7 separate regions of the Homo sapiens genome follow, and regions 1, 2, 3, 4, 6 and 7 are each linked to region 5. Evidence: promoter capture Hi-C in 16 types of primary human blood cells and fetal thymus (Javierre and others, 2016). All regions are on one chromosome and are shown on one strand. The core of a region is centred on a gene start or on the middle of the fragment in contact, and the rest is flanking DNA. Distances in the headings are between cores, read along the strand shown. Region 1 has its middle 40 kb from the start of TEX48. Region 2 has its middle 44 kb from the start of TNFSF15. Region 3 holds the start of LOC105376231 (a long non-coding RNA gene). Region 4 overlaps TNFSF15 (TNF superfamily member 15). Region 5 holds the start of TNFSF8 (TNF superfamily member 8). Region 6 has its middle 61 kb from the start of TNFSF15. Region 7 has its middle 27 kb from the start of TNFSF15.

The links. The method cuts DNA at HindIII sites, captures the fragments that hold promoters and counts their contacts. A CHiCAGO score of 5 or more calls a contact.
Region 1: a fragment that was not itself captured here is called in contact with the fragment with the promoter of TNFSF8 in region 5 in 12 of 17 cell types (activated CD4 T cells, non-activated CD4 T cells, total CD8 T cells and 9 more); the score reaches 18.0 in activated CD4 T cells.
Region 2: a fragment that was not itself captured here is called in contact with the fragment with the promoter of TNFSF8 in region 5 in 11 of 17 cell types (total B cells, activated CD4 T cells, naive B cells and 8 more); the score reaches 14.9 in total B cells.
Region 3: a fragment that was not itself captured here is called in contact with the fragment with the promoter of TNFSF8 in region 5 in 11 of 17 cell types (activated CD4 T cells, total CD8 T cells, non-activated CD4 T cells and 8 more); the score reaches 22.0 in activated CD4 T cells.
Region 4: a contact is called between a fragment that was not itself captured here and the fragment with the promoter of TNFSF8 in region 5, in 6 of 17 cell types (total B cells, naive B cells, non-activated CD4 T cells and 3 more). The highest score is 8.9, in total B cells.
Region 6: a contact is called between a fragment that was not itself captured here and the fragment with the promoter of TNFSF8 in region 5, in 14 of 17 cell types (naive CD8 T cells, monocytes, activated CD4 T cells and 11 more). The highest score is 19.5, in naive CD8 T cells.
Region 7: a fragment that was not itself captured here is called in contact with the fragment with the promoter of TNFSF8 in region 5 in 9 of 17 cell types (total B cells, naive B cells, activated CD4 T cells and 6 more); the score reaches 13.3 in total B cells.

The regions. Positions count from the first base shown.
Region 1 is chr9:114,720,962-114,724,229 of GRCh38, forward strand. No RefSeq gene overlaps it. Among named protein-coding and RNA genes, the nearest start is that of TEX48, 40 kb to the left of the region's middle. The HindIII fragment of the contact is 2,167 bases long and covers 762-2,928 here.
Region 2 is chr9:114,760,008-114,763,592 of GRCh38, forward strand. No RefSeq gene overlaps it. Among named protein-coding and RNA genes, the nearest start is that of TNFSF15, 44 kb to the right of the region's middle. The HindIII fragment of the contact is 4,539 bases long and covers 1-3,585 here.
Region 3 is chr9:114,695,226-114,698,865 of GRCh38, forward strand. LOC105376231 (a long non-coding RNA gene) reads left to right here and starts at 625. Exons shown (of 2, transcript XR_007061745.1): 1 at 625-3,224. RefSeq lists enhancers at 1,716-1,765, 1,776-1,895, 2,881-3,080. The HindIII fragment of the contact is 3,680 bases long and covers 1-3,491 here.
Region 4 is chr9:114,797,414-114,800,522 of GRCh38, forward strand. The region is part of intron 1 of TNFSF15 (TNF superfamily member 15); the gene reads right to left. Among named protein-coding and RNA genes, the nearest start is that of TNFSF15, 7.1 kb to the right of the region's middle. The HindIII fragment of the contact is 8,771 bases long and covers 1-3,109 here.
Region 5 is chr9:114,929,282-114,932,463 of GRCh38, forward strand. It overlaps TNFSF8 (TNF superfamily member 8), which reads right to left and starts at 1,310. Exons shown (of 4, transcript NM_001244.4): 1 at 828-1,310. The coding sequence starts at 1,022. RefSeq lists an enhancer at 404-963. The HindIII fragment of the contact is 2,687 bases long and covers 132-2,818 here.
Region 6 is chr9:114,743,388-114,746,499 of GRCh38, forward strand. No RefSeq gene overlaps it. Among named protein-coding and RNA genes, the nearest start is that of TNFSF15, 61 kb to the right of the region's middle. The HindIII fragment of the contact is 9,237 bases long and covers 1-3,112 here.
Region 7 is chr9:114,777,019-114,780,372 of GRCh38, forward strand. No RefSeq gene overlaps it. Among named protein-coding and RNA genes, the nearest start is that of TNFSF15, 27 kb to the right of the region's middle. The HindIII fragment of the contact is 3,798 bases long and covers 1-3,239 here.

The DNA of each region.
Region 1 (3,268 bases), core at 595-3,094, 210 kb before region 5:
CTGGGCAATCTTGGCTCAGCAACATCTCCTTGTCCTTCCCTTTCCCGGACACCAGATCTAGTCTAGTTGGTTTATTATCTTTTCTAACAGAATCTAATCCAATGACTTTTGATTGTCCCCCATGGGGTTTTGGAAACCAGGCTCTACACTCGCGCATTCTCCTGGTCCACTTAGATGGCTCATCTCTTCCTTTTGTGGGTGGATTTTGGTAACTAGAAGATTCTCTCCTTGTTCTTTCCCCTCCTCCTCCCATTAGAATGTAAGTTTGCTGAGGGCAGGAGTGTGACCCTCTTGTTAACGATTGAATCTGCAGCGAGTGTCTGCTTGGATTAGCTTGAGGTCATGATGCAAATGAAAAGGGTTGGACTGGAATCCAGATCTCAGGGCTCCCAAGAAGATCTTCTCGGTCCCCCATCCCTCCCTTCCTTCATACACCGCGCCAGATGCCCGGTTTCCAGCAGGGAAAAGACAGACACTCACCCTCTGCCTTGATGGGTTTCTTTCCTCCCATGCCAGTGCCTCCTTGGAAGCCTCCTGTTAATCACCCCAGTGTGCTCAGTTCTTTTCAGCCTCCAGGTTTTTGTCCTGCTGTTTCCTCCCCTGGAGCCGCCTTCTCCCTGCTCTGTGTGCTGGCTCCTCCTGGGGAGCCTGTCCACACCTGCCTCCCTGCGATGGCTGTTGTTCTGTTTCCCCTGCTCACTGCCCTGTCAGTCACAATCTGCTCACACAGGTTTGCTTGCTTGTTATCCACGCCCCCACTAAGCTTAAAGCCTCGCAAGGGCAGCAACTCTGTAGTCGTATTTACAGCGATGTCTACATGGACTCTGAGCTTGAAAACCACCTGGTGATTGAAAGAATGAAGGACTCTGCTTTCTAGTAGGTGAATGACTCTTTGTCAAAGGATTACACAAAAAACAAACAATGATGCAGTGAGGTAACTGCTGTGAAGGGAGTTTACAGTGTGCACGAGGGCACAACACACTGGGGCTGACCTCTGCTGGGTCTTGCATGGAGGCACACACAACCCTGTGGGGTAGGAGCTGGCGTTGCTTCCTCAGAGAAGCATCCCTGATACCCCAGATGAGTGCAGGCCTCCCTGTCATGTGGCTTGACAGCTCCCTGTACTTTCCCTACAGCACTTATTGCAACGATACACATTTATACAATTAGTTTTATTTTCATTGTGCTGAAACGTGCATAAAATTTGCTATTTGTGACGTTCGGTACATTCACAGTGTTGCTCAACCATCACTGCTATCTAGTTCCAGAAATTTTCATCATCTCAAAAGGAAACCCCATACACTTTAAACGGTCACTCCCCATCCTCCATACCCCGGGAAACACTCATCTTTCTGTCTCTATGATTTGCCTATTCTAGATATTTCTTATAAATAAGATGTAATTAGTTAAAAATGTTTTCCCCCCACAGCCATAAAAAAGAATGAAATCACATCTTCTGCAGCAACATGGATGGAGCTGGAGGCCATTATCCTAAGTGAAATGACTCAGAAACAGAAAATCAAATACCGTGTGTTCTCACTTATAAGTGGGAGCTAAACAATGGTTACTCATGGACATAAAGAGGGAAATAATAGACACTGGTGACTCCAAAATCCAGAAGGGTGGGAGGAGGGTGAGGGTTGAAAAATTACCTATTAGATGCAATGTTTACTATTCGGGTGATGGGTTCACCAGAAGCCCAACCTCACCATTACACAATATATCCATGTAACCTGTACATGTGCCCCCTGAAACTATAAAAAACAAAAACCAGTGGAGGAAAATATTTTCTTCCTCTCTTTTCGTCTCCCTCAGGGTAAGAATTGTAGGATTTGTGTCTGTCTGGCTTACTTTCGCCCAGTCCTGGCACAGAGGCTGGCATGTGCTCTATGCCCCCCAAACAGTGGTGGCATGATGGAAGAACATTTTCTCACTGCACGTCTGCAAGCTCACTGGATGAAAACGGTGTGACTTATAGGATACAGGAGTCAGCGTGCTTGGGTACAGTTCCTCCAAATGCCTCTTGCTAGATCAAGTATTACCTTAGTCTTGTTATTAAACACCTTGGCACATCAATTTCCTCATCAATGAATTGGGGAGAGTTGTAATGCCTGCCTCCTTCGGGTAACACGAGGACAACTGACACTCTATCTGCACAAGTGCCTGTTGCAGCAGCTGGCCCAGAGCAGGCTCTCAGGATCACTAGCTATTATTATATTCCTTGTGCTTTTCAACCCCAAGTTCTGGACTGGGTCATATACAGAGTCTATGGCAAATGCACGTTAGTTTGAATGATGCCTAAAAGGGTTTAAAAATTAGGCAGGTGGATGCCTAGGTCAAAACTGAAGAGAGTTCAGTTGGGATGATGATAAAGAAGAGACTTCTCCCATGAGATTTTGTTCAGTTGTGCTGCAACACCAGTATCTCAGAGACTTACAACACTGCGAGTGTGTTTGGCTCACTCTGTAGGTCCCTGTGGGCCAACTGTGGCTCTGCTCCATGGGCTTTTTATTCTGAGATCCAGGCTGAGGATGCAGCTCTCATCTGGGCTGTGCTGCTCCTGTCGCATGGCAGAGGGGAGTGACAGGGTTGGCTCCAAGACTCCTGCTCCCGTGTTGCATACATCACTACTGCTTATATCCTGAGGCCACACCAATCACAGCCAAGCCAAGCAGGGCAGCCACGGTGATCTCTTCCAGGGAGTGCAGCAAATGACTGGGAATAATTATACACAACCATGCTGTGGTCTCAGAGCTTTAGTTATGTTTCGGGCATCTTCCGATGCATCCCTCTAGTTCATGCACTCCAACTCTCTACCCACAAGTTAGAACCATCATCCCAAGAGTTTTGAGAGGGTTGTCAGCTAGCAGTAGCTACTCTGTGGTCTGTGAGGCTCTCCTGCTCTGCAGATTTGGTCCATAGATGGAAAGCTTTGAAACTCCATTTGTGGCAGTGTTATTTATGGTAATGGAAAGCTGGGAAGAATCTAAATATCCAGCAATAGGGGAAAGGGAATAAATGGTGGTTTGTTCACACAAATGGTACTCTGTACCACCATCAAAATAAATAAATGACAGCAAAGTATTAAATTGGAGGAATCTCCAAAACATACACAGTGAGTGGAAAAAGCAGATGTGGGATGATACCATGTGAAAATATGCAAAGTGCTGGAAACCATCTGGCAGTTCCTTAAAATGTTAAAATAAACATAAGTTACTATATCACCAAGTGATTCTACTCCTAGGTATGTAACCAAGAGAACTGAAAA
Region 2 (3,585 bases), core at 177-2,676, 170 kb before region 5:
CCACTTTTCAGTTTTCTTTGCTTTCTCTTTTATTCAACCTCTAAGTCTTGGAATGCCTCAGAGTAGTCAAGAACCTCTTTCTCCATTTATATCTGTACAGTCTCTTAGGTGACCTCATCAGTCCCATTGCTTTACAAATATCTTTGTGTTGATGGCTCCCAAGCATATTGGCTGGTGTTGACTTTTCCCTGGAACTGTAGACTTATAGAGCCCATTGTCTGCCTGACACATCCATCTGGCTATTGCATAGGCATCCCCAAATGTACATAGTGAAAGCATAGCTCTGGATTCTCCCTATACCCAAGACCTCTTTCTGTTGACCTCACCTTGGTAAATGACAACAACAGCTACCCAAATGCTAAAGTCCCCCAAATTAGCTGTTACCTTCATCTCTTTTCCTCGATCCCCACAATCAATCCAGTATTAAATCATGTGGAATACAGTTGAAAAACATAGTTTAAAATAATCAATTTCTCTTGAATCTACATATAAAGATTACAGCCCCACTTTCTCTTGCCTTGGTTCATCCAAACAATCTTTCAACTGGTGTCCTTCTCTCCTCTCTTGTGCCTCTCCAATCTGTTCTCTAAACTCCAGGTAGATTGATCTTTGAAAATATAGCTCAGATTTTGTCACTACCTTGCTTATGTTTAGTGGATTCTAATTGGCTTAAACTCAACTCTTTCTCCTCATGCAGAGCCCTCCATGATCTGGCCTCTGTCTTCTTCTCCGACCTCATCTCCTACTGCATTCCCTCCCATATATTCTTCTTGGATCACACCAGCTTTCTGTTGGTTCCTTGAACACTTCAAGCTCATTTGTACTTTAAAGCCACTGTGCTACTTAATCTTTGTGCCTGCAATTGTCTCTCTCTTTTTATCATCAACAACAATTGTTCCTTTCTACCCACCCCATCACTCCTGATTCCATCACTGAATTTTTTTTACTTCCTCCCCTCAGCTTTATTTTCCACAGCAGACATTTTACACACTCTCCAAAATTAATAAACAACACTTTGTCATATTTACTTCATGCTGTTTTTTTAAAGAAGTAAAATTTTGTAGCCTTTTCCCTTCTTTCCTTTCCAAAGGTAATAACATTCACAAATTTTATGTCTATTTTTATACTTCTACTACATATGTAACTACCCATAAATGATATATGTTATTTTTTGTGTATTTGAAAAAAATGTAGTGTTATTATCCTATACATATTGTTCTATAATTTGCTTTAAAAACAACAAAATAAACGTATTTTTGAGGTCTATCCATGTTGGTATCTATCTATCTATCTATCTATCTATCTATCTATCTATCTATTGTTATATAATTCTATCTAGCTATGCCATCACTGAATTTTTGTTTTCCATGTAGCACTTGGTTTGTTACCAGCTTCCCCCAGTAGAATATTATCTTCATGAGACCAAAGACCTTGTCTGTCTTCCTCGCTATGATGTCTCCAGCACTTCCAAAATAATGTCTGGCATGCAACAGGTACTCAGTGAATACTCATTGAAATAACTCTTCTTTTTAATCTCCTCATCTTTTTTGTCCTCTTTGAGACAGAGGTAAGTAAAATGCTACAATAAATGAGAAACACAAGCGAGTCACCAGGGAGGAAGCACACTAGAGCAAAGTGATATCCTAGAAGCACCATTTTGCCTAACAATATACAGTGACTCTTACAGCCCTCACAATAAAGCCTCAGGAGGTCCACAGCCCAGCTCCACCTACCACTGTGGTCTCACTGGCTGTTGCTGTTCTATGCCAGTCTCTCTCCCCAGTAAACTCGTCTTCTTTCCTAAATAGCCAACTCCTCTCCCTGTGTTCCTATATTTTTCACACTGTTTCCACAACTGAAGTGCCCATTCTTTTTTGACTCAACATAGCCTTCAAAATTCACCTCATGCCCCACCTCAACAGGTTTGCACATCTTTATTGAGCTTTTTTGTCAAGTGAGGGCTTTTCAGTCATGTGAGCTCAGGCAGGCCTCTTAGTGGCAGGCAGGGCAGGTACCACACCTTATGCTCATTTTACAGATGGTCCTGAACTTGGTCTCTAGACAGGTAAAGAAAGTCGAAAGAGGCTGCATTGGGTGAGGGAGATTCTTAGAGTTCATCCCACATCTCTGCACCAGAGAGGGCCTTCTCTCCTTTTCTTTTCTCTCCTCTCCTCTCCTCTCCTCTCCTCTCCTCTCCTCTCCTCTCCTCTCTTCTCTCTCTCCCTCCCTCCCTCCCTCTCTCTCTTTTTCTTTCTTTCTTTCTTTCTTTCTTTCTTTCTTTCTTTCTTTCTTTCTCTCTCTCTCTTTCTTTCTTTCTTTTTCTTTCTCTCTCTCTCTCTTTTTCTCTTTTGAGAGGGAGTCTCACTCTGTCACCAGGTTGGAGTGCAGTGGCATGATCTCAGCTCACCGCCACCTCCGCCTCCAGGGTTCGATTCCCCTTCCTCAGCCTCCTGGGACTACAGGTGCACACCACCACACCCGGCTAATTTTTTTTTTTTTGTATTTTAGTAGAGACGGGGTTTCACCATGTTGGCCAGGATAGTCTCAATCTCCTGATTTAATCTCGTGATCCACCCGCCTTGGCCTCCCAAAGTGCAGGGATTACAGGCGTGAGCCACCGTGCTCGGCCCTTGTTTATTTTTTTTTTATATGGTAGAATCCCATCTAACCAGGGTGAGCTTTTATTTATTTATTTATTTTTTGAGACGAAGTCTCACTCTGTCGCCCAGGCTGGAGTGCAGTGGCATGATCTCAGCTCCAGGGTGAGCTTTTAAAGCCAGCCCATGAAAACCCCTTTGAAAGGCTTAGCTTTGAAGAGCAAACCCATGGGCAGCACAGCCAGTTTTATATCCAATGGGGCTGCTGTTTCTTTCTTTCTGATTTTTTTTTTTTAAGATGGTAGTCTCAGTATGTTGCCAAGGCTGGTCTTGAACTCATGACCTCAAGCAATCCCCCTGCCTTGGCCCTCCAAAGAGCTGGGATTAAATGTGGGGCATTGCCCCTGGCCTGCTGTTTCTTTAGTTGAGCAACTTTGTCCTCTGTTTACTGGGAATACTGTATAAACAACACAAACCTATACCTTTAAATAACGGAATCAGCTTCAGCTCACATTCTTAAAAGAAGCATGGGGTGAGACCCTCCAAGTGTCCAGTAGTGTCACACCTGTTGCCCTGGTGGAACGATAAGCAGACGCCCATGAGATCTGACTTGTTGATTTTGTGTTCTCTCTTTTTGCGTGCCATGTTGGTTGAGATCTTGCCCACTGACTGGTGCATTTTCAAAGCATCTCACATTCACGTAAACATCTCACATTCATGTAAACATCTCACATTCACTTAAATTTGAACATTTTAAAATGTTGAAATCACAGCTCTATACCTCACTGTCTTCTGTGCTTCAGCAAATTGCTGAATTTGCATTATGCAATATTCGTGTGCAATATGTCTTGGAGAAAGTCTGAGGCTCGCAGTTTAATTATTGCTTTGAAGTTCTAGGAGCAGGGGATTTATCACCTTGTGCCATAAATACAAAAGTTGGTGACACATCATTAGAAATATGGATCCCCAGAATTAAATTGTTTTAGCT
Region 3 (3,640 bases), core at 402-2,901, 230 kb before region 5:
AGAAGTAGGAATCTCTCTTGGGCAATTTCTAAGTACTATAGAACTTGTCAGCAAGAGAGAAGGCCAAGGAAAAAGTTTTGTTGTTGTTGTTGTTTGTTTTTTTTTTGAGACTAAGTCTTGCTCTGTCACCCAGTCTGGAGTGCAGTGGCATGAACTTGGCTCACTGCAACCTCTGCCTCCCAGGCTCAAGGCATCCTCCTGCCTCAGCCTCCTGAGTAGCTGGGATTATAGGCACCCACCACCATGCCTGGCTAATTTTTTTTTTTTTTGTATTTTTAATAGAGACAGGGTTTTACCATGTTGATCAGGCTGGTCTTGAACTCCTGACCTCAAGTGATCCACCCACCTCAGCCTCCCAAAGTGCTGGGATTACAGGTGTTAGCCACTGTGCTCAGCCAGAAAAAGTTTTAAGAATTCATTTTTTTTTTTTTTTTTTTTTTTTTTTGAGACAGAGTCTCGCTCTGTTGCCCAGGCTCTGGAGTGCAGTGGCATGATCCCGGCTTACTGCATTTTAACCCAGGCTTCATGGTTCTTTGAGCTTCTGATAATATATTTTTTAAATAAGATACAAATTTTAAAGGAGATAAAACTAAGGTTGATAATTGAGTTTTCCTTTTTTTTTTTTTTTCAATTCAAGAGCAGGTACTGTTTATTAACTGACCAGATTAGAAAAATAATCATGGTAGACATCTTCATTTATTCTTCTAAGAAGGCTGTTGATCTGGTCCCCCCTGTTGTCAGCATTTCCACCTTCTACAAAATGGGTGGTCTTTTTCTTCATTCCACCTTCTGGAGAGGATGGTTTGGAGGGCCACAGGAAGTTACTTGCTTGTTTGAAGCATTTTCCAACAGTATAGATCTCATGAATCAGATCTTCCGTGCAGATGATACCATATTTACCAAGAGATTGAGCAATCAAAGTGTTACCTGTCAAAGCAATTCGCTTCTTATTGATTTTGCCATAACCACACTTACAGATTAGTTCATTTACTGACTTCAGATTTGGCTACCCACATGCAATATATGGTTCTACAATCCTCAGCATGTTAATTGAAGATGTGTTGAGCTTCACAAAGGTTCCATTGAAGATTTTATTTATTTATTTATTTAGAGATGGAGTCTCGCTCTGTCACCCAGGCTGGAGTGCAGTGGTGCAATCTCGGCTCACTGCAAGCTCCACTTCCCGGGTTCACGCCATTCTCCTGCCTCAGCCTCCTGAGTAGTTGGGATTACAGGCGTGTACCACCACACCTGGCTAAATTTGGGATTTTTAGTAGAGACAGTGTTTCGCCGTGTTGGTGAGGCTGGTCTCGAACTCCTGACCTCAGATGATCCACCCACGTCGGCCTCCCAAAGTGTTGGGATTATAGGTGTGAGCCACTGTGCCTGGCAGGGTCTACATTTTTATCAGTTCTGGAAGAGCCAGGATTTTGCCTTTATTAGGTTTGCCATTTCACCCGGTAGAAGGTGGAGAACTAAATCCCAGGAGCTTTGGGGGTCCCTTCCTGCTCTGACTTTGGGTGGTTTTGCAAGGTTCACTCCCAGAGAAAGGGAAAGGTCCCATTATCACATGGTGGTGTGAATCGGAATAAGACAACAGCAAAAAACAACTCCCACCATCCCCCAACTTTTACTATCTCTGGGGCCTCTTCTGAATCTCTCTGCAGAGAGAGATCAGGGATGCCCCGAAATTGAGATTGTGGTCGAGGACTGAGACCAAGTTATTCACAACATGGTTATATAATGGATGCTCAGTCATATCAGGACTCAGAAGATGTGAAGGGCCCCGCCCTGCAAGCTGTTTGAAGGTCATGATGGCTTCGCAGTGATGGGAAACAAGGCCAGTGTCTCTGTTTGTGGGTTCCCTGCACCAAGGGTATAATTCACTGGGGCTCTTCCCACCATGGCCTGGCCATGTCTCCACCCACCCACCCACCACCTGACTCCTGGAGAATGGGGGGGAAACTTTTATACTTAATTTTTTTTTGTCTTCTCCTCTTTTTCTGTGTTTTCTTCAAATTTGTTATAAGGGGGCAGCTTGGCAGAGGAAATGTGGTAGTGGCCTGAGGCCTTGGGGCTGAAAGAGCCCGGGGTCTGAAATCATCAGAATTGTCTCCAGATGAATTGAAACTGAGATGGAAAGCAGCATATGACTCATCGTGGGTAAGAAGCCACAGTCTTTTTTGTATGATTGTAACCCCCGGCCAAGTGAAAGCAGAATGACCCCTGTCTCTTCTTTGGGGTCACACAGCTACTCAGGAGGGTGAGAGAAAATGATGTCTATGAAGCACCTGCTATGGGATAGGCATTCTATCTAAACCTGTCCCATTTAAACCTGACAATGCACAGTGAGGGAGGTGTGAGTACCACCCCTGTTTTGTAGATGTGGCTCAAGGAAGGTAAAGAACACATCTTAGGGGAGAGGTTTCTGGTAGTCACTCTCCCTAGACCAGAGAGAATAAGTAATCCCTTGGTACCCTCCATTTTTCAGCCCCTCTGCCTTAAAAAGTGTGTGCTATAGAAGGGGAGGTGTCATGTCCACTCTGCTCTGTGTCTTTAGGAAAATCCCCTTTCCTCTCTGGTCTATTTCTGCTTCTGTAAAATAAAGTCTTTGGTATGAGGTCTTTTTGTGCTCAAGGATTCTATATTTCATGCCCACTTCTTACTGCTCACTTTCATTTTCCCTAGCTCCAGGATAGGCCATATCACTTCCTGGAAAGTTCTGTCCATTCCCATGCTCCCATGGACAACTGAGAGTGAGGACATAAGGTGATTGGGATAAGATCTTGATATTGTAGGAAAAATGGTGAATGACTTTGAAATGGACCGAAAAGATGACTGGGTGTCTTCATCAGAAAACTAGGTGTTTCTATGGGGCCTCTGGGCCTTTCGTTGCCTTTGAACTGTTTCAGAACTGTAAGTTGTAGATGACTGAGAGTGATGCAAATGGTTCTTGTCCGTAGATATGCAAATACATTTTCTGGTGGTAATACAATTGTCTTACCACATCTCCTGTGGAATAAACCAGTTTTGCATCTTTATTCATTTCAGTATTTCTTGCTTGTGTATATGTGGTTCTTGGAATTATCCTTGCAACTAGATGTGACGTCCTACTAGTTCTCTCACAAATTAATGAGCTAAATCATTGATATGCAATTCTTTGATATTTCAGTGAGTGTTATGATTATGTGCTCTTCTAGCAATTATCCTTTAATGGTATATAGGTAAGTATAATCCAATTCTATTTGGCATTGTTGGTGGGTAAAGGATGATGGTGGGGTATGTTAACATAAACCTTCCTATGTATTTCAGCCTGGAGGCTGCTTTTCTGGCCCAAACCGTTTTTCATGACACCCTCCCTCCCGGCAGGCTTCCTATGGCTTCTGCTTATCCTGTGTGCTACCACTGCTCTGGGATCCCGGGCTTCTCTCTCTGCGTTTCCTGGAGGGGAATCTATTCTCCCCAGCTCCCTACTTCTAAGCTACCCTAGAAGCTTTGCTAGCCTACTACCTACATCTGTGTTCAGATTTGACTTATCATCATTTGGGGGGAATAAATACCTACCGTGGGGCAGTGATAAGAGTTCAGCTATGTTGCACGTGTCTGAGGTTACTGACCTGCAGTCATTCCAGGTACTAAC
Region 4 (3,109 bases), core at 71-2,570, 130 kb before region 5:
GAGACTCTTTCTCCAAGAACAACATCTAAACCTTCCATTGCTGCTTCTCTTAATAACAACTCTGTCTATCACAGGAGGAAAATTATTGTGATAGGAAGCAGTAATGAATGAGGAAGAAATTTGAGAGGATGGAATAATAGCTTATTTGAGAAAAGGTTTATGCATTACAGCTGTCCTAATGCCTGCTCTCAGGATGGTTCCTGGGAACACCAGGCCAATGCAATGTCTTCTGTGTTCCAGCCCTGACTCATCTCCATCACTTCTTGTTATTCTGGGGGCACCGAAGAGGTGTTGGCTCCTAAGAGGTGCTGGTCATGGCAACATTAGCCTCCAATTGAATAGACATGGTGTCTGATAATGAGATTATTCCTACATACATATCTTTTCAAACCACTGGCTGAAATCCAGGATCGAATTTTATTATTTATTTGTGTGCTTATGACTTTTCTCGCTCTGAAAATTCAACCTGCCTACAGGTGGGGACCTATATTCCTAGTGCCTCAGTCAGTGCCTGGCACTTTTGCCAGATTATCCAACTGGCAAAATGCACAGATTCTCAGGCATCAGGAAGACAGAGGCAGACAAAGAGAGTCAGAGAGGGGGTGAGGATGCAGTGACTTCAGCCAGAGTTTTATAATCCAAAAATCTAGGAAAGACAACTTTTTGTTCCTATTAAAAATGTTTGTCATTTAGTACGAGGGCCTCTAAAGGTCTTCATCAGGCTCTGTGTGGAGCATAGCTGTGGCTCTAGAAAGATTTGTTGTAAGTGGCAAGGCTTAGCCAGGAGCCAGAGTCAGAAAAGCAAATGTGTATGTCCATAAGCATGCATCTTAGAGGGAGATGGGATGCTTGCTCCCACCAGCATATGTTAGCCCTAGCAAAAAACAGCTGGTGCTTCTCTTCCCCTACCCTCCTTAGTTCTTGTAGGTCAGGGAATTTTTCCTCTCATTTGATTTTTGTTTTTTTTTTTGTATGTTGACTGGTAATCCCTGACTCAAACTAACCATGGTCTGTTACTATAGGTATTTTTGGAATTACTTTAATTATTTAAATTGGGCAGAAGAAAGCATAAAGAGGAGATTGAAGTTTAGTGGAATGCTCCCCAGGTGCCAGGTCCTGTATTGGGCATTTATGTGTTTGCCTCATCTAATACTCCAGCTACTTTTAAAGGAGGGGTCAGCATCACCTTTTCATGGCTTAGAATGGCACGAAAAGAGGTCAAGCAACTGTCCAAGGTCAAAGAGTGCATGGAGGGCTTGGGATCTGAACCTTTAGACCAAGTACAGACCCTGGCACATATTGGGAGCTTCATAAACATCAGCTCAGTGTACAATAGATGAACAAGCCTGAAGCAAGATAATCTTTGAGATTTCCTGGCATTTCCCCAGAAAAATCCCCTAAGTATATTTTAATTAATGATCCACATAGCCTTTCCTCTCATGTACTATAGTCACTCTCTATCTCTATTCATAAACAGGGAGAGATATTCATCTCTTGCTGTCATAAATGCTGTAATTGCAAAGGCATAAATGTTTTATGATCCAAAACATCCTCCCAGCACTTCCAGGAGAAATATGCAGATGTTTGCCTCTTTGTCTCTTCCTTCTGCTTCTGCCTGTTTATACTTGCCCAAGGATAACGCCAACCTGGAAATGTTTTATTCTGAGGTCATTTCATTTCATCATCCTCCAAGGTGCCCTGGATAGGGCTTTATGTGCAACATTCAGCACAGTACAAAGCAAAGATGCTGGTGTTTGCAGGTGAGCAAATTTGGAAATCCCAGCTCCATTATTTCCTGGTGCTCTGATTGTGGCATGTCACTTGACCTCAATGGAACTGTTTCCTCGTCAATAAAAGCAGACAATAATTCTTACCTCCCAGGTCTATTGTGATGGCTCAGAAAGGCCACATATATAAGGTTCATTTTCCTCATTTCTTTGGGCTCAATATATGATTGTAGGCTGTATTGTTGGTTCTGCACATCCTCTTTTTGGTCTTAGGACTTCAGTTGTACACAGAAGCCACCCTTGTATCTTTTTATCACAAGGAGTAGATTTGGATGCTTTAGGAGCTCCGGGAGGCATCTGCTTTTCCCCAAGGACAGACATTCACTAGGCTTCCTCAGGCTTTTGAACTTCTGCCCTTTCAGAGTGCAAATAGATTGAGGGAATGGAATTTACGCCCCACCCACTTCACATCCCCAGCTTGTTGCTGCTGTCAGCTACAAGGAGGGGTCAGGCTGGGAGATGACCTCTTGTAGCCAGTGTGTGGTCTGCAGTGTATGCTCCATTGGGTGCGGATGCAGGAGCTCTCCAAGCTGGCCTGGCACTCAGCGATATGTTCACTTTACCTGGTGGTTGAGTGGATTCTGCCGTTACCAGCTGCAAGCTGCCTGGATGTCTGAGATTCACAGCCAGGCTTGCTTGCCCTTCCTGCCTCTGCACTTCCTCAGTGCACCTTCACTGCCTCTGGTTTCCCTTCCCTTTGCCCACAACCTGATCTTTGGAGTGAATATCTTCCAGGTATGCTGGTGCTTCCTGAGGTTATAGCAAGGGCATCTTCACTGAGGGATAAGGGGTCTGCAATTTACAAAGTACTTTTATCTCAACTATCTGTTTTTCTCTAGATAGCACTGAAAGAGATTATCATGATCCCTAATCCTTCGGAAAGAGGAAACAACTTGAGTGAGATAAGAGGGCTCATCCCAGGTGGAGTGGGGAGGGGGAGGGGGAGGGAATCATGTCTGCTGAGCATCTATTCTATGGCAGCAGCTTTCTGGACATTTTGCAGAATTCTCACCATAGTGCTATATAGAAAGCGTATTAATCTCCTCATTTTATAGACAGTGAGTCTATGGCCCAGGGAGATCTAGTACATTTCCCACCCCTCCAACCCTCCCTCCATCCAGAAAACACTTAGTGAGTGCCTTCTGTGTGCCAGGTACAGATAGGTGCCCTCAGGGGAGGAAGAGGACTGGCATTTATTGAGCACTTACTATGGGGTAGGTGCTTTTCATAGTTAAATCCTCCTGCCTATCCCAGGAGGTGAATACTTGGTTGGACTTATTCCCAAAGGCAGACAACATAGTGATTAGGAGAAATATATACAG
Region 5 (3,182 bases), core at 60-2,559:
TGCTTAGTATTGTGAGGAACATCAGAGAGAACAGGTGCTAAAAACCTTTCAACTTTCTGCTTCTATGTGCTGTTTCTTTTTTTTTTTTTTTTGTGACGCCCTAACTTCTTCAAAGTTGTGGCTTAAGAGGAAGCTTTCGATTTGTCTTGCTGGCTTTAACACCAAAATGTCCAAAGCTCTAAGAAGCCATGGTCTTCTCTTTCGCCTCCTTTCCTTCTAGACCTTGGCCTCTGAAACTTAGCTCCTTGTATAAAACAAAAGCAAAAACAAAACTCTTGGCAATGGGTGAGGCCTCAGAAACCTCCAGGACACTCAGACTTAGGATATAGAACCTCAGAATCCAGTCTGAAGTCCTTGAAGACATGATAACAACTTGTGCAAATGTGTTATCAGGTTTCTCTATTGCTTCCTTCCTTGATATGGGTCTCTGGCTCATTAAGATTTAAATCTTAACTTTAAAAGGCCAATAGCTCCCCTCCACTGTTTTGCTCAGACAGATCTGCAAAGTTTTAAGATGATGGTCTAACAATATTTTTCTCAACAAGCCAAATTATTTTAGAGAGTTAAGTTCCTCTTTCTTTTCTCCCTTTCTCATATATATATATATATATAATATATACTGTATAATATAATATATATTATGTAACATAAGTGTATTACGTTATACAGTATATACTATAGTATATATATATATATAGAGAGAGAGAGTTTATTTATTTAATTTTATTTTGTGCTCTTAACCAACAAACGAATATCATTTGTTCCCAGGGCTCTTTCTCTCGGGAAAACAACAAGAAAAGGAAAGGGAGGAAGAGGAGTCCACTTACCGTCCTCTGAACGACCAACACCATAATAGTGGCCACCGTGAAGACAAGGCACAGAGCCAGAGTGGCTGTGGTCAAATAGAAATAGCTGCGGCTCGTGGTCCCCAGGTGGCTGGCCACGGAGCCCGCCGGCACATGCATGGCTGTGTCTCCAGGAGGGGCCATTCCGTTGAGTGCTTGCTGCAGCCCTGGGTCCATTCTTTATATAGTCTTCCCCACATCACACCTTATCTCTCTTCATCTGATTCAGTTCTGGGCCCATCTCTGTTCCAAGAAGGATTCTCCCCCTGAATCCTGAATCATGTGACTTGGAAAAAAACCTTCACCTGCTGCCTGGTGGAGAAACTCTTCTCTGGGGGCGTGAGGCGAGAGGCGGCAGCAAGGGTGGGGGAGAGGTTCATTTTTCATTGCCAGGGATTAAGTTGTGTGCAGAGAAACTAGCTACAGAGAAGGTGGCTGATGTCAGAGGGCGCGTAGGAAAATGACGGTTCCCCGACTGTGTGTGTGTATGTGTGTGTGTGTGTGTGTGTGTGTGCATGCGTGCGCACACACAAAGCAACTTCTGTTTCGTTTAGACTCTGCCACAAAACGCCTTCCTGTTCAAGAAGCTGCACCTTCTTTCAGCGAGGCCTGTGGCTCAGAAGACCTCCCCAGATAATGAGTCCTTGCTGGGTCTCAGGGAGGCCGGATCCCTCGGACTGCAGTGTAATAACTCCAAAGGGTTCGGTTTGATAGGCTACTGCTGAAAAAGGGACATGCTGCAGGTTCCCTGGGGGAAAAAGGGCACACAAATGGAGATATTTCTCCAAAGGGGGACTGGCTCATGGCAGTATGAAATTTGGGGTTCAAAGATACTGTCAGAAAGCAGGAATCTGGAAATATCAATCTTTTGAACAAACACTCCTGCAGAAGTTTTGGGATCTGTTAAACTGGCAGATGAACCTGGACCTGCCGTAAAACTCATGAAGAGGGGAAGGAATTGGCAGTGAGATGGTGTGGTGTGGAATATGGGGGCTGTGTGTGTTCTGCGTGGTGTACTATGTAGTGTGTGTGTATTTGTGGTATGGGGGTATGTGTAGGTGTTGTGTGTTCTCTATGGTATATGTATGCAGTGTGTGTGTGGTGTGCATTTGTGATCTGCAATGCATGCCGAGTGTGGTGCGTATGTAAGTGTTGTGTGTGGTGTGTATGTATGTGTTGTGTGTGGTGTGTTGTGTCTTGTGTATGTATGTGTTGTGTGTGTATGTGACTACTATAATTGAACCTCTACTGTCTCAGGCACAGCGCTAGGAGTTACATGTGGCTTCATTCCACTTCCACCTCCACCCTCCGAGGCAGGCAATGTTTATTTTTTACAGATGGGAAAACTGAGGCTCAGGGAGGATGAAAACTATCTCAACCTAAGTCGCAAGTGTCGATCACTGAAAGAACTTGGGTGCACTTTGCAGCCTGCCTGGCTGAAAGCTCGTGCTAAGTCATTCAATCTTCACTGCACCTGAAAGCTAAAACCTGAAGTGTGGTCTCAGCCCTTTCCCTTCTTAGCCTTGGGCCATCATACAAGTCTTTATGGCTTTCTCTGTTCCCAATCTGCATTACAGTCATCAGGAAGACCAAGCGAGATGATGTCAGAGTACTCCATGAATAAAAATAGATTTGGGGATGGTGTTGGACAATTCCTGTTAAACATCCCAAGCTGTCTACTGGGCTAAGTCTGGAATTTAGATACAATAGACAGATTACCTGGGGGACAGAGTCAGATCACATCTGTGGTTACTAATGATCTCCATTTCAAAATACCGTTTAAAATGTTAATCACTGCATAGCTGCTGCCTCCAGATGTGGGCCTTTGAAAGCTCCATTTGGTATCACCGTGGAAGAAGCTCATTCTGCATAGCACCTCCTTTCCTTTCTGCTCACTTTTTGTCTGCAGCGCATCACTTTGAGCCAGCAGAGATCCCAGATGCCCCTAAGGAAACGTCCTGTGTCTAAAGCCAAGCTTGGATTATTACCACTGCTGTTCTTGCATAGAACCAAAACTTCTGAGCATCTCCCAAATTAGATCAGGCTTTAGGATTTGGTCTGGATATTTCCTCCCAGTGAGTCTGTAAAAGCATAGATCCTGGAGACGAAAGAGACATCAAGAGATAAATTGTTTTCTTGGGCTAAATAGAGTGGGGGGCGATATACCCATTTTACAATCAAGGAAACCGAGGCCCCCGTGATCCCAATTGAGTTTGGTTTTGAAAACAGTGTGTTCACGTTCGTTTGGTCCGGTAATTAAGGTGGGAACGAGGCAAGCCAGTGTTTTCTGGGGCATGTACCTGGCTGATTTGGGGAGAAGGCTGTGTCCTCTGGTGG
Region 6 (3,112 bases), core at 487-2,986, 190 kb before region 5:
TAAAAGTATTAAAATATTTCTTTGGATTATCATTACAATTATTAATACTAGGTGGGGAGCAGTGGCTTATGCCTGTAAATCCCAGCGTTTTGGGAGGCTGAGGCGGGAGGATCGCTTGAGCTCAGAAGTTCAAGACCAGCCTGGGCAACATAGTGAGACACTGTCTCTACAAGAAATTTTTGAAAAAATTAGCCAGGCATGGCAGTGCATGCCTGTGGTCCCAGCTGCTTGTGGGGCTGAGGTAGAATTGCTTGAGCCTGGCAAGTCAAGGCTGTGGTGAGCTATGATTGTGCCACTGCACTCCAGCTCCTGGAGGGTATGGTATCTGCATAAACTATTTGGTATTTTTTTTGGTATAGCAGATTTGTCTCTTCTCCTTTTGTTAACTTAGTCACTCTTTTTTGTTTATATCAACACAGACTCATGGATATTTATTTTATACTTTGGGCCATAATCCAATACTATCTTATTGATTTGGTTGCTCAAATGGTTCCAGCTTTGGCCATTGGATGATCTTTTAATTGGCTACTGGGTCCCTTGGAAATAATCCCATCATTTTGTCTTTTGAGCATTTTCTTACTTTTTAGCATGAGAGGCCATTTCTTTTTTTTTCTTTTTTCTTCAACCTTTATTTTATTTATTATTATTATTATTTTATTTTATTTTTGAGACAGTCTCACTCTATCGCCCAGGCTGGGGTGTAGTGGTGCAATCTTGGCTCACTGCAACTTACGTCTCCTAGGTTCAAGCAATTCTTGTGCCTCAGCCTCCAGAGTAGCTGGGATTACGGGTGAGCACCACCACGCCAGGCTAATTTTTTTTTTTTTGTATTTTTGGTAGAGATAGGGTCTCACCATGTTGGCCATGGCTGGTCTCTAAATCCTGGCCTCAAGTGATCTGCCCGCCTTGGCTTCCCAAAGTGCTGGGATTACAGGTGTGAGCCACCGTTCCTGGCCTTCAACTTTTATTTTAGTTTCAGGGGTACATGTGCAGGTTTGTTACATGGGTATATTGTTACATGGGCAGGTTTGGGGTAGATTGATCCTGTCACCCAGGTATAAGCATAGTACCCGAGAGGTAGTTTCTCAGCCTTTGCTTCCCTTTATTCCTCCTCCCTCTTATGGTCTCCACTGTCTATCTTTCCCATCTTTGTATCCATGTGTACCCAATGTTTAGCTCCCACTTACAAGTGAGAATATGTGGCATTTGGTTTTCTGCTTCTGTGTTAGTTTGCCTAGGATAATGAGATGTCATTTCAGATCACTAAATTAAAATAGCACTTCATCTCCAACCAATCCCTCTCTATGACACAACCTTTAAGATATTTTTATGGAATGAATCACTATAAAAATTATCTTTTTTAAATTTTAAATTTTGTGGGTTCATACTAGGTATATAGATTTATGAGGTACATGAAATGTTTTGATATAGGCATGCAATGCATAATAATCACATCTTGGAGAATAGAGTATCCATCCCCTGAAGCATTTATCCTTTGTGTTACAAACAATCCAATTATACCCTTTTAGTTATTTTAAAATGTACAATTAAGTTATCATTGACTATAGTCACCCTGTTGTACTATCAAACAGTAGGTCTTATTTATTCTATATTTTTTTGTACCCATTAATTATCCTCACTTTCCCCCCAACCTCCACTACCCTTCCCAGCCTCTGGTAACCATCCTTCTACTCTCTATGTCCATGAATTCAATTGTTTTGATTTTAGATCCCACAAGTAAGTGAGAACATGTGACATTTATCTTTCCCTGCTGGCTTATTTAACTTAACATAATGACCTCCAATTCCATCCATGTTGTTGCAAATGACAGAATCTCATTCTTTTTTAATGGCTGAATATACTCCATTGTGTATATGTGCCACATTGTCTTTATCCATTCATCTGTTGATGGACTCTTGGCTTGCTTACAAATCTTGGCTATTGTGAATGGTGCTGTAACAAACATGGGAGGGCAAATATCACTTCGATATCCTGATTTCCTTTCTTTGGGTATATACCCAGCAGTGAGACAGCTGGAACATACAGTAGCTCTATTTTTAGTTTTTTTGAGGAACCTCTGAACTGTTCTCCATAGTGGTTGTACTAATTTACATTCCCACTAACAGTGTACAAGGGTTCCCTTTTCTCCACGTCCTTGCCAACATTCGTTATTGCCTGCTTTGGATCTAAGCCATTTGAACTGTGTACAATTATGTTTTTTGGAGATGGGTGGAGTAGAGGAATGTTATTTTTTGGTGACTAAACCATGTATTTTTGTCAGCGATTACTCTCGCTTCCTAGTGGTCCAGTAGCTCCTATGTAAATAGTCAAATTCAGCCAACTTAGACCACAGAGCCTCCTGTGCCATGTAAAGAGGATTCTCCTCTACTGAGACAACAAGACCATGAGGAGCAAGGCGGATGTCACATTAGAGATGTTCTGATTGGGCTGGGAGAGGAAGGGGAAAACCTTGTTAGGGTGAGGGTCAGAGGATGCAAAGACTCAGATGTGTGTGTCCCATTCTGACCCTGCTTGTCTGGACTAATATCTGGAAGGGGAGGCCTTCCTCAAGATGAAGGGAGCACCCAAGCAGAGGAGGTTTGTGCTGGGTCGCTGGAGGATGCTTCTTTGCTGGGTCACTCATGTCAATTAGGGAGAGGAGGGTGGTGCAGAGAAGAGGCAGCACTTTCAGAAGCACAGAGGCAGAGCTGCAGAGCCAGATGTGGTACCACTTGTTGGGCGGGGAGCAGTCTTGGTCCTGGCTGCTCCTCCATGGAGTGAGAAGCATCCAGACAATTCCTGCATCCATCCTGGGGGCACTCTTCCTGGGGAGGAGATTGTGGCAGAGGCTTAGCATGGGTACCCTTCTCATAGGCCCAGTGGAGTATGTGACTGAGGCCCAGCAGAACCTTCAGGGCTAGCCAGAGCTGAGGCGGGGCTGAGTCACCCAGGGAGGACAACACAGGTCCATATCAGGCCTGGCATCTGTCAGTCATGTGTGAGGACCCAGAGGCCAGAGCATAGATCAGAGGCCCCATCTTTTAATATCATAGTGACACCACACCAGTCTCCTTACTCACCCAGAACAGAGAAAAAGAAAAGGTGAGGCTTT
Region 7 (3,354 bases), core at 91-2,590, 150 kb before region 5:
TAAATGAGTTAACAAGGGTAAAGCACCTAGTGCTGTACTTGCCTCAAAGGAGGTTCTCAATAATCTTGTGAATATTCCTTTCTTTTCTTTTCCTTCCCTTCTTTTTTCCTCCTCTTCTTCTCTTTCTCTCTCTCTTTCTTTCTTTTTTCTTTCTCTCTCCCTCTCTCTCTTTCTGTCTTTCCTTTCCTTCTTCCTTTCTCTCTCACTCTCTCTTTTTCTCTTTGTTCTCTTAAAGAGGTCAGGGAAGAGAGGAATAGTATGTTTTATTACAGTGTTTAACAACATGGTTTTTGCAATCAGCCAGACCTTGGTTTAAATCTTGGCTCCACAGCTCATTACCTTTGGGACTTTGGAAGAGTCACAGCATATCTTCAACCCTCAGTCTATTTAGCTGTAAAATGGAGGTAATGATTTCTGATTGATAAAATTATTGTGAGACTTGAATAAAAACTGAGTAAATGAGAAGTGGCCACCTAAACCTGTTCCATGGCAGGTGCCCAGGAGTTCTGTCTTCCAGTTTAGCTGTGGGTCAATCCCAGTTGTCATCCTACGATCAGCTACTTGATAGGTCTAGGTCCTCCCATTCTGAGTCCCTCTCCTTTCTCCTCACTAGGGAAAGTTTGTCTGGGGTGAAGATGTGAGTGTAAACTGGATTTATATTTATTCAAAACCATAAATGATTAAAATGCATTTTGCAGATTTGGGTTGGAACTTCCCCTTCCATTTTCCCCAACCTGCTTCCACTTCCCATATAAAGCCTGTTTTTGCTCTGGGTGACATCCTTGGGAATAGGAAGGATTGAATAAAAACTGGAAATTGGAAGACAAATGTATATAGGGAAGGAATCCAGATACAAAACTATGTTGAATAGTTTGTCCCACAAACATTTATTAGAGTTCAGCTGATGACAGTTCCTAAAAGTGAGTAAGACACCATCAGATGGGGGAAAGACAGACGATCAGACAACAAGCCCGAGACAGGGGATGGGGAGGGTTCCTGTGAGAGTCCCTGCATGAGGCATTCAGGGTTGGCTCCGCAGATGAAAGGACAGCTGAGCAGAGTCTTGAGAAATGACTAGCAGTTCACCACGGGGTAGGGGAGGGCAGGCATTCTACCCAGAGTGCTTTAATCAGGGGTGCTAGGGCAAATGTGTACCAATTTACAAGAAGGGAATATTAAATTACCAGGAGTTTTGTGAGCTGGTCATTAAACACAGCCATAATAAAATTAAATTACATAAACCTACATTTATATAAATTATATTACAACAAAGGTAATAAATACTCCAAACTTGTCACTTCTTAGTTATTACTACATTATCCATTATCTATCCTCTTGTGGTTGTAAATATCTATTGTATCCATATGGCTGAAATACATCCTTTCTGAACTCACTGGCAACACATTGGTTGCTTGTAATTGGTCATGGTGGAAATATTTACAACACAGATAGCAACAAATGGTGCGAATCAGGGCTTTATTTTGGAGAGCCGGATGTTCAACATTTATTAGCACATCACTGCCTCTATAACATAGGCAGAGGGGACATGGGAAACCAAATGAAGCAGAGAGGTTGGTAGGGACTGGATCAGGAAGGGCTTTGAATGCCAAATCCAGGAGCTTGGATTTCCCTCTAAAGATGATAGGAAGCTACCCTGGCCTTTCGAAGAAGGAGAGTTCTATGAACTGTTTTTGTAATAGCAAGACCACTGTAGTTGCTGTAGAGCAGATGGACTTCAGTGGGCTTCACTTGGTGCAGGGAGACCAGTGAGGAGGCTATTGACATAAAGAAGGAAAGAAGGGGTCTAATTTGAGACTCAGGAGTTGGCCTTAGTGAGTGATTAAATGTGAGGGATGGGGAGAGTGGCCAGCCTAAGATGACCCAGGGTTCTGTCTTGGGACACTTGGTGAAAGATGGTGATGCCTCAGAAGTACAAGTGCCCATGGGCAGATGGACAGAGTGTGACAGTGTCCTGGAGAGAAGGGAAGGGCAGATCCCAAAGCATTCAGACCTCACTCCTCAATTCCTGCCTTTATCAGACTCGTAAACACAGGGATTTATTTTTGCTAGACTCGCAGAGTGGGGTCTCTCTGACCCTTTTGCTCATGGACTGAACGCCTAAGGCAGCATCATGGGACTAGAAGCATGGTATTGGATTTGGTCAGATCTGGCTCAGTCCCTTTATTCCTATGAATATGATGGCTTCCTTTCTGAGCCTTGATTTATCTTTTTGTAAAATGGGTATTCTCATCCAGACCATACTTTCCTCCCCATGGAGCTCTTGAAAGAAGGGACACATGCTGGTAATTTTCCTTATCCTTATGATGTCAGATCATGTTTGTTAGCACAAGGGCAAAAACCAGGAAAACTTCCTGGCACACAGGAAAGCAAAGTCTATTTGGGCGTCATTCTTGAAAAACAGTAGGGAGTGCCAAGGACAACGTTGGATCTTCCTGTAGTGGCTGCAGGAGAAAAGTTTTCCATTGAGAGGCTGGAGTGGAGCTCTAGGGATTGGTGGGGTTGTCACCAGCCATACCAGTGCATTCTAAGGCACAAGTTGTTTGCTTTGGCCCAGAAACAGCTGGCAGTTGGCCAGTGCCCAGCCACCTTGTCCTTTGCCCATGAAGGCTCTAGTAATTAGCAATATTCACCGAATGAATCACAGTTGCTATCAGCCAGTAATTGTGCTATGGAGTCATGAGTCTAAATGTTAACTAAATCAAACACGCTGTGCAGAGTGGCCTTAGAGAGGCCTTCACTGAATCACTGACTTGGAAATTGGGTCCTATTTTTGTTCTTTATCTTTACAGCCTGTTTTTCTCCTTTAGATCACTTATCACAATAAGTTTTTGCACAGTAATTCCTTTATTGTAAACCTCCCCATTCCCCTCCAACTTCAACCCAATAGCATGGAAGTTTTATGAGTTTAGTAGCTATGTTTATTTCATGTGTAGCCCTTGGCATTGAGGGTCCTCATTAAGTAAGAGTTAGATGAATGAATAACCAAGTCTCCAGACCTTCATGTGCCATTCTATTATGATCTTATAATTTCTATAATTTGGTGTTGCTTCTTTAAATGTAGAAGAGAAGAAATAGAGACAGCAGAATTTTCAGGTAATTTTCTGATGAGGGACCAGGTACCTTTGTGGGTTTCATCTCATTTTATCCTCACAAGGGTGTGGTGAGGCATGTACTACTTTTTAAAAAATTTTTTTTCAAGTATTTCATATTTTTTGAGAAGCTTTCCTTCTGGTACCCATGAGCTTTTAGTTTACAGCATATAAACGTTTTAATGTCTTTATTTCCAAAACACAATACATTGCATTGTCTAAAGCATTCTTAAACCTTGGCATG